Regions from separate parts of the Homo sapiens genome. Here region 2 is linked to region 1. The links are contacts of gene promoters, found by promoter capture Hi-C in human tissues and cell types (Jung and others, 2019). All regions are on one chromosome and are shown on one strand. The core of a region is centred on a gene start or on the middle of the fragment in contact, and the rest is flanking DNA. Distances in the headings are between cores, read along the strand shown.

What was found. The method cuts DNA at HindIII sites, captures the fragments that hold promoters and counts their contacts. A contact is called where the count stands out against the background at its distance.
Region 2: a contact is called between a fragment that was not itself captured here and the fragment with the promoter of CST3 in region 1, in 1 of the 25 tissues and cell types used here (dorsolateral prefrontal cortex).

Annotation. Positions count from the first base shown.
Region 1 is chr20:23,636,405-23,639,832 of GRCh38, forward strand. It overlaps CST3 (cystatin C), which reads right to left and starts at 1,551. Exons shown (of 3, transcript NM_000099.4): 1 at 1,216-1,551. The coding sequence starts at 1,458. RefSeq lists silencers at 1,086-1,335, 1,366-1,705. The HindIII fragment of the contact is 14,575 bases long and covers 1-3,428 here.
Region 2 is chr20:22,396,047-22,399,474 of GRCh38, forward strand. No RefSeq gene overlaps it. Among named protein-coding and RNA genes, the nearest start is that of LINC01427, 110 kb to the left of the region's middle. The HindIII fragment of the contact is 3,047 bases long and covers 242-3,288 here.

The DNA.
Region 1 (3,428 bases), core at 301-2,800:
CATCTGGCTGAGGTCTAACTCTGCATCAGCTGATAGAGGCAGGGTCAGGCATGCTCCACCCCAGCAGGGACTCAGCTGCCCTGGGATGTAGGGGGTGGTCAGCCGGCCTGAGGGTGAAGGCCGCTAGTCCTAGGGGACTGTGCCCAGGGGTGTGACTTGGGGAGGGAAGCAGGGCTCTGCAGGACAAGGTGCCAGGCTCACGTGTGGCCCCTGCGGAGAGTATTCTGGGAGGAGGATGAGCCGCATGGCCTAGATCTCATCTTGAGCAGCATCAAGCCCACCCAGAGTCAGCATAGTCTCCATCCACACCTGCTAGACCCTGGGAAATGGCACGGTCGTGGCACAGACCCAGCTGCTGCTGCAGGTTAAAAGAGGCCGAGGGGACAGGACAGGGCTGAACTCATGCACTCATGGCCCAGGAGCGTCCTAGGGCACGAAGGCCGTCAACAGACAGGGAAAGCTGAATGAGTCTGAGCATTAGATCATGAATGTGTCAGTGCTGATTTTCAAAATGGAATAGTGATTATGTGCGATATTGCCCTTGTTTTTAGGAAAAACACACTGAAGTGTTTACTTTCAAAAGATTCAGGCAAAAAATGCATATACAGTACATATACACACACCCATATTCACATTCGGAAAGTGAGCTGGGGGGAACAAACAGGGCAAAATGTTAACATCTGTGCTAACATCTGAGGGATCTGGGTGAAAGATCTACAGGGATGCCCTGTGCTATTTTGCAGCTGCTCTGTAAGTCTGAAATTACGGGAGAATAAAAAGTTAAAAGAAACAAAAGTGCTTAAAAATTATTTGGTGGAAGAACAAGGAGGCAGCCAGATGAGGGGCTCTGTTTTTCCTTCTCCTGCGTATTCAGCAGCGCACCCGGAGCCCAGCGTCCCAGGAGGTCGGGACAGAGCTGTGTGGGACGTCCTGTGCCTGCCCCCGCGCTGCGGCGCAGCTCGAGCTGGCTCCTGGAAGCTGATCTTAGGCGCCGGGCGCGGACCTGACGTGTCCGTGCGGTTCCAGGCCAGGCCAGACTCAGGGCATTCCCGGACACGCCCGCCAAGGGCTCGGGGGTGACAGCGAAGACCGGGAACAGGGTCCGGGTGAGAAGCCCAGGCGCCGGAGAGGAGCAGCACGGGGTCCGGGAGCAGCGCGGGGGGAGGCTGGGACGGCGGGGCCGGGGCTTCGGACCCTGCGGGGGGCGGCACGCACCTGCTTGCGGGCGCGCACCACCTGCAGCGCGCGGCTGTGGTACATGTCGTTGCTGGCTTTGTTGTACTCGCCGACGGCAAAGTCCAGTGCACGCCGCACACCCTCCTCCTCCACGCTGGCGTCCATGGGGCCTCCCACTAGGCGCGGCGGCTTGCCGGGACTGGAGCCGGCCGCGGGGCTCACGGCCAGGGCCACGGCCAGGATGGCCAGCAGGAGCAGCGGGGCGCGCAGGGGCCCGGCCATGGTCGGCTAGGACGCGGGACGCGGGGAGTGGGGCGCAGGCGAGAGGCTGGAGCTAGATAGAGAGGACCCGCTGCGATACCGAGGCGAGGCCGTGAGCCCCGCGAGGCCGGCGACTGCGGTTTTATCCCTTCCGGCCTTCGCCGCCCCACCCCACCGCGGCCTGCACTCCCTTTTCCGGAACGCCTCGTCCCTCCCACCTCCCTTCTCCCTCCCCGCCTCCCCTGCCTCTCCCCGCCTCCCCTGCCTCTCCCCGCCTCCAGGTCCCTCCCTATCAGTCTCCTCCCATCCCAGCCTCCCCTGCCCCTCCAGGCTTCCCTGTCCTTCCCCATCCATCCCCTTCCCTCCCCTCCCAGCCCCTCCCGGCCTCTCCTCTCCCTTCCCGCCTCCCCTCTCCCTCCCCTCCTCCCCTGGCCCCCCAGTCTCCCTGGCCTTCCCTATCCATTCCCATCCATCCCCTCCCCTCCCCTCCCCCTCCTCTCCTACTGTCTTCCAGCCTCCCCTGCCTCTCCTATCCTCCCCATTCCTCCCCATCCATCCGACCATTCCCACCTCCCCACTTCGGGCCCCTCCATGCCGCCACTCTTCAGGCTCCTTCTCCTCTGTCCCTTTCCCCTTTCAACCCCCAGACACCGCCTCCCATGCCCCTCATCTCCCTCCTCCACTCCTGTCCTTGCTCCCACTTCGCCCCCACCCCAGCTCGGCCCCTCTTCATCGCCCCTCCCTCGTCCCGCCCCTCCTCTGTCTTCCCTTCCTACCCATTCCTGGCCTCTCCCTGTCCCTGTCCCTCCTATCCTCTTCTTTCCCCTCTTCTCACCCCACTCCTGGCCCCTCTTCCCCCACCCCTTCCACACCTATGCCCCCCTTCTACCCACTCCACCCCCTCAGCTCCATCTCTTCCCAAAGACCTGTCCCTCCTCCCAAGCTTAGGTCACCCTGCCCTCCAGAGAGGTGTCAAGGCCCCCTGGGCCCTAAAAGCATACGACCCCCTAGCTTCATTTCCTCAGAAAAGGGAAAGATAGAGGTCTCGGCCTTCCGGAGTCTTCAGAGGTCCTGAGTATCCGTGAGCATTTGGTCAAGGTCTAGAAATCACTAAGGCAGAGGTGTGATTCCAGAGGCCACAGGAGACTCAGGCCATGCCCTGTGCTAGGGAACTTTTCAAACAGAAGAATTAACCTTTATTTGAGTAAAAAACTCTGGGTTCTCCTTTCACAACTCATTATTCAGTAAACAGACTTTTCACCAGCTTCCCCCTGCACCAGGTAGTCTAGGAGCTAGAGACGGAGCCTGGGTGACCGAGCCATGGACACTACATTGCAGGGCTGCTGCCAGACAGAAATGTGACACGAACCCAGGAGCAATTTAAAACTTTCTGGGAGACACATTTCAAAAAGTAAAAAAGAAACAGGTGAAGGTAATGTTTATAATATTTCTTACTTAACCTAATATATCCAAAATATTATTTCAACACATAAGAAGAATCATTAATAACATAGGTTATTTTATTTTGGGTGTGTGTACTGAGTCTTTGAAATTCCCTGTGTATGTGGGTGTCAATTGTACTGGCCCCATTTCAAGCACCCTGTGGCCACATGTGGCTGGTGGCTGTGGCACTGCACAGCCCAGCATTAGGGTGTGTGGGAGGATGGCGAATAGTGATCAATAATTAATATCAGGAAATTAGTCTCTCTGTTGGAAGTGAGAGTATGGGATAGAGAGAGATGATGCCACTGGACCTGGTCAGGGAGGACTCTATGAGACTGGAAAGGTGAGAAGCCCTGCCTAGACAGGAAACAGCCCCAGGCAGCGGGAAGGGCCAGTGCAAAGGCCCTGAGGCGGGGCTGGGCATGCCTGCTCCAGGAAGAGGAAGCTCCTGGAGGGAGTGTGAGCAGGGAAGGGAACGATCTGGAGTCTCATGGTAACTGTGGGTGGGGCCGGGTGGAAGGTGCAGTGAGACCCATTGGCAGGCAGTG
Region 2 (3,428 bases), core at 515-3,014, 1.2 Mb before region 1:
TTTAAGGAAAAATCAAAATTACAGCCTCATATAATATCATACATGCACTCACATACTTTCAGATGAATTTTGATTTTTTAAAAGTTAAAAGATAAAGATTTTCACGTGGTAGAATTAGAACAAAATCAGAGAAATAGAGGAATAATTTTATTGTAGAAGAGTCTTATGTAAGCATAAGAGCAAAGAAAGATCTCACCAAATAAATAAGCACTATATATGATTACATAAAATATAACATTTCAAAATACATGCACACACACACATCACAATATACATGACAGAGAAAAGACTAATATCTTTACTATATAAGGATATTTTATAAATAATAAAAAAGGTAAATACATCAATAGATCAATAGAAAACCTGGCAAAAGATATAAACAGGCAACTCACTGAAGAAGAGCTAGAAATAATAGATGGTAAAATGGATGGCAAATATATGAAATAATTTTAAAACCTTGTGATCAAATGAAAATTTCAATAATTCCAACACATTTATCATATGATATATATACACACAATATTCCACATTTATCTTATAAAACTGGCCAACATTTTTATTTTTAATGAATATGCCCAGCACTTAATAAAAATGTAGGAAAATGAACATTCATGCCAGCTTATGGAAATATAAATTGGACTAACCATTCTAATCCACAATTTGACAATAAATATAAAAGCCTTAAAATTTATTCTGTATGAAGTAGGATATATGTTAGGATATCAGATTCTCCTAGGGATAATACCAAGGGTTTGAGGAGACGATATTCACTACAGCATCATATGTAACTGAAAAAAAAGGATAGGGCAATCTAAGTATCCAGCAGCCAAAATGTCCAAACCAATCATGAAATATGTGTACAGGATTGGAATAATATGAAGATGACACAAATCAAGCAGTAGACAAACACACTGAACTATGGAAACAACTGACAGTGTATTTCTAAGAGAAAAATTATCAAAAAGTACATGCTGTCGTTCATTTAGCCAACACATTGAGTGCTGAACTTAATTATACAAATAATAATAGCTTATGTGTATATGTAAAGAAAACACAGAACAGACATAAGGATAAAAACAAATATTACCTTTAAGTGTTGAATATTATAATGAAGATGATGGAAATCATCCATCATCTCACTATTGTTTACTTTAATAAACAGTAAGACTTTGGAAATCAGAAAGTAATAAGGAAGTTAGAAGGTGTCATGCTTTACCACATCATACGTTTTAAAACATGCCATGCTCTTTCAACATGTCATGCTATATTGTCATGCTTTTCCCCATAAGTTATAATATGTCATGCTTTTTATTTTGCAAAATCCTTTCTCCTAAGAGTTTAATAATAATGATACAATGGGATGGCAAAATGGTTCCAGCTGCTTTTTTTTTTTCCTTTTCTTTTTTTAACCAATTGCCCCAGGCCAGTTTAAGAGCTTTGATACATGATCAGAGTTTCAGCCACAGCTTCCCGGCTGGTTCAGAAACAGCAGAAGGAAGAATTTAAAGTGCAAGTAGTGGCTTCAGAGTTTCTTGGCCTCTGAGTCTCCCAGTCACTCTGCACCCTCCAAATCAAGACTCTCCCAAGTTTCTCTGTCACATGGTGCATTTGAGAGAAATGTAGAAGTGGGACTCACTGAAACTGAGGCTGGATCCTGGAATCATGCCTTATGAGTTGCTTACAAGCTTTGTTCCCTCCTTTTTAGTGTTCTCACACCTTGTTAAAACATCAAGTGCAGGTTCTCAATACTGCAAGAGAAGAGCCATCTTCCCAAGCGATTCAACAGCAAAACATTTAGATTTCCTCCCACAAATAAATGTCTTGTTCTATTATGTGCCAGTATAGGAATTATGGGACATGATCATTCAGCACCAAATTTACCTTAGATATTACAGTGATGTGTAAGATATGGCTTTTGTTGACAAAGGATTTATTATTTATTGTGTCAACAGGTCTTCCCAATGCTCCCATGAAAAAAACTTCCCGTGACTTCCTTTCACCTCAAATTACAGCTCCCTGGGTTTCTCCTCCAACACCACCCTTCTGCACTCACTATTTCTACTTTCTGAGCAGCTATTGTTCCACAATTTGTCAGTTGGACTTCTGTACCATTCTCCATCAACAATCTACTGAAAGTGGTCTGGTAAAGGTTGACAGCAATCCAAGTTGTGAGGTCCATCAACTTCTCCATCATCCCACTGTCTGAAACACTCTCTCTGTCAATCACCTTCTACCTGCAGAAAACGTTCTGTTTCCTGACCAGTGACTTAGATTTGCACAGTGATCAAGCTTTCAATGCTTGTCTTTTCTTGTTCCTTGGTCTTTCTCATGTAGACTTACCAGTTCCCTTAACCTTCAACTATCTTCTCATATTCACGACTCCTAAATTTGTGTTTCCAGCTCATCTCTCTCCTGGACTAATACAAATATGAAATAGCTTCCTGATCCTCATCAATTCTCTATTCTTATCCACACCCTCATTCCTTACCTATTGCTGAAGTCATCACCATTACCCTCTAACTCATATTCCTATCTCTGGCCTTATGCCTATCCATCCCTTTCCTTTAAAATTATATTTCTATGTCAGATATGGTTAGCGCCTTTAAGGGTCCAAATGGAAACTTGGAGCATATAAGAAATAGAGTGCAGCTCTCCCTTCGCACTCTTGACTAAAATCTTCAGGAAAACTGTCATGATCTATATGAAAATCCACAATGCCTCTGAATATGAAGCATCCCTCCCCTGGAGTCATGCAATATCCAACCTTCATGGCCATATGCGGGGGTTCTGGTTCTGTTAGTAGGATCCCACATCAGAATAACCAGGTTGACAGAACACATATATGCCATTTAATTATAATACTTTAGATCATCCACATTTCCGACAAATGGTCTTTTGGCTCCTGCACCAACATCTTCAACAACTGGGAACTCTTTCTGAAAGTGTATCTCTTCTTTACAGAGTTCAGAAACTGAACTTGCTGCCTTCTTGAAGCTTTTCTTTATTGACAAGTTTTTAAATATTTTAAGAATATTCGGAACAAGAAAGCAGAATAACACAGTGATTAAAGGTACAACCTTTGATGATCAACAGATCTGTGTTGGAATACTTTCACTATTTACTAAATGATCTTAGACGAATTCCTCAATTGCTCTATTGCTTTGTTTTTTAATCTGCAAAATGGGGATAATATCATTACCCATCTTCTCCCTTTTAGGGTTCTGAGGATTAAATGAAGTAATGCTGGTAGTGATACACAGCACCCAGTCCATAGCAGGGGCTTGGTAAGGCTGGATACCTGCCCTGGCTAAGTGGGTTTTTCATATTTTCTTCCACCTTTCTCTATATTCTGTAATTATTGGCTCTTCCCAAGTCCTGCCCATATTCCTCTATATGTGGTCCTTGGAAATGAGGTATCTAGGCTTGAA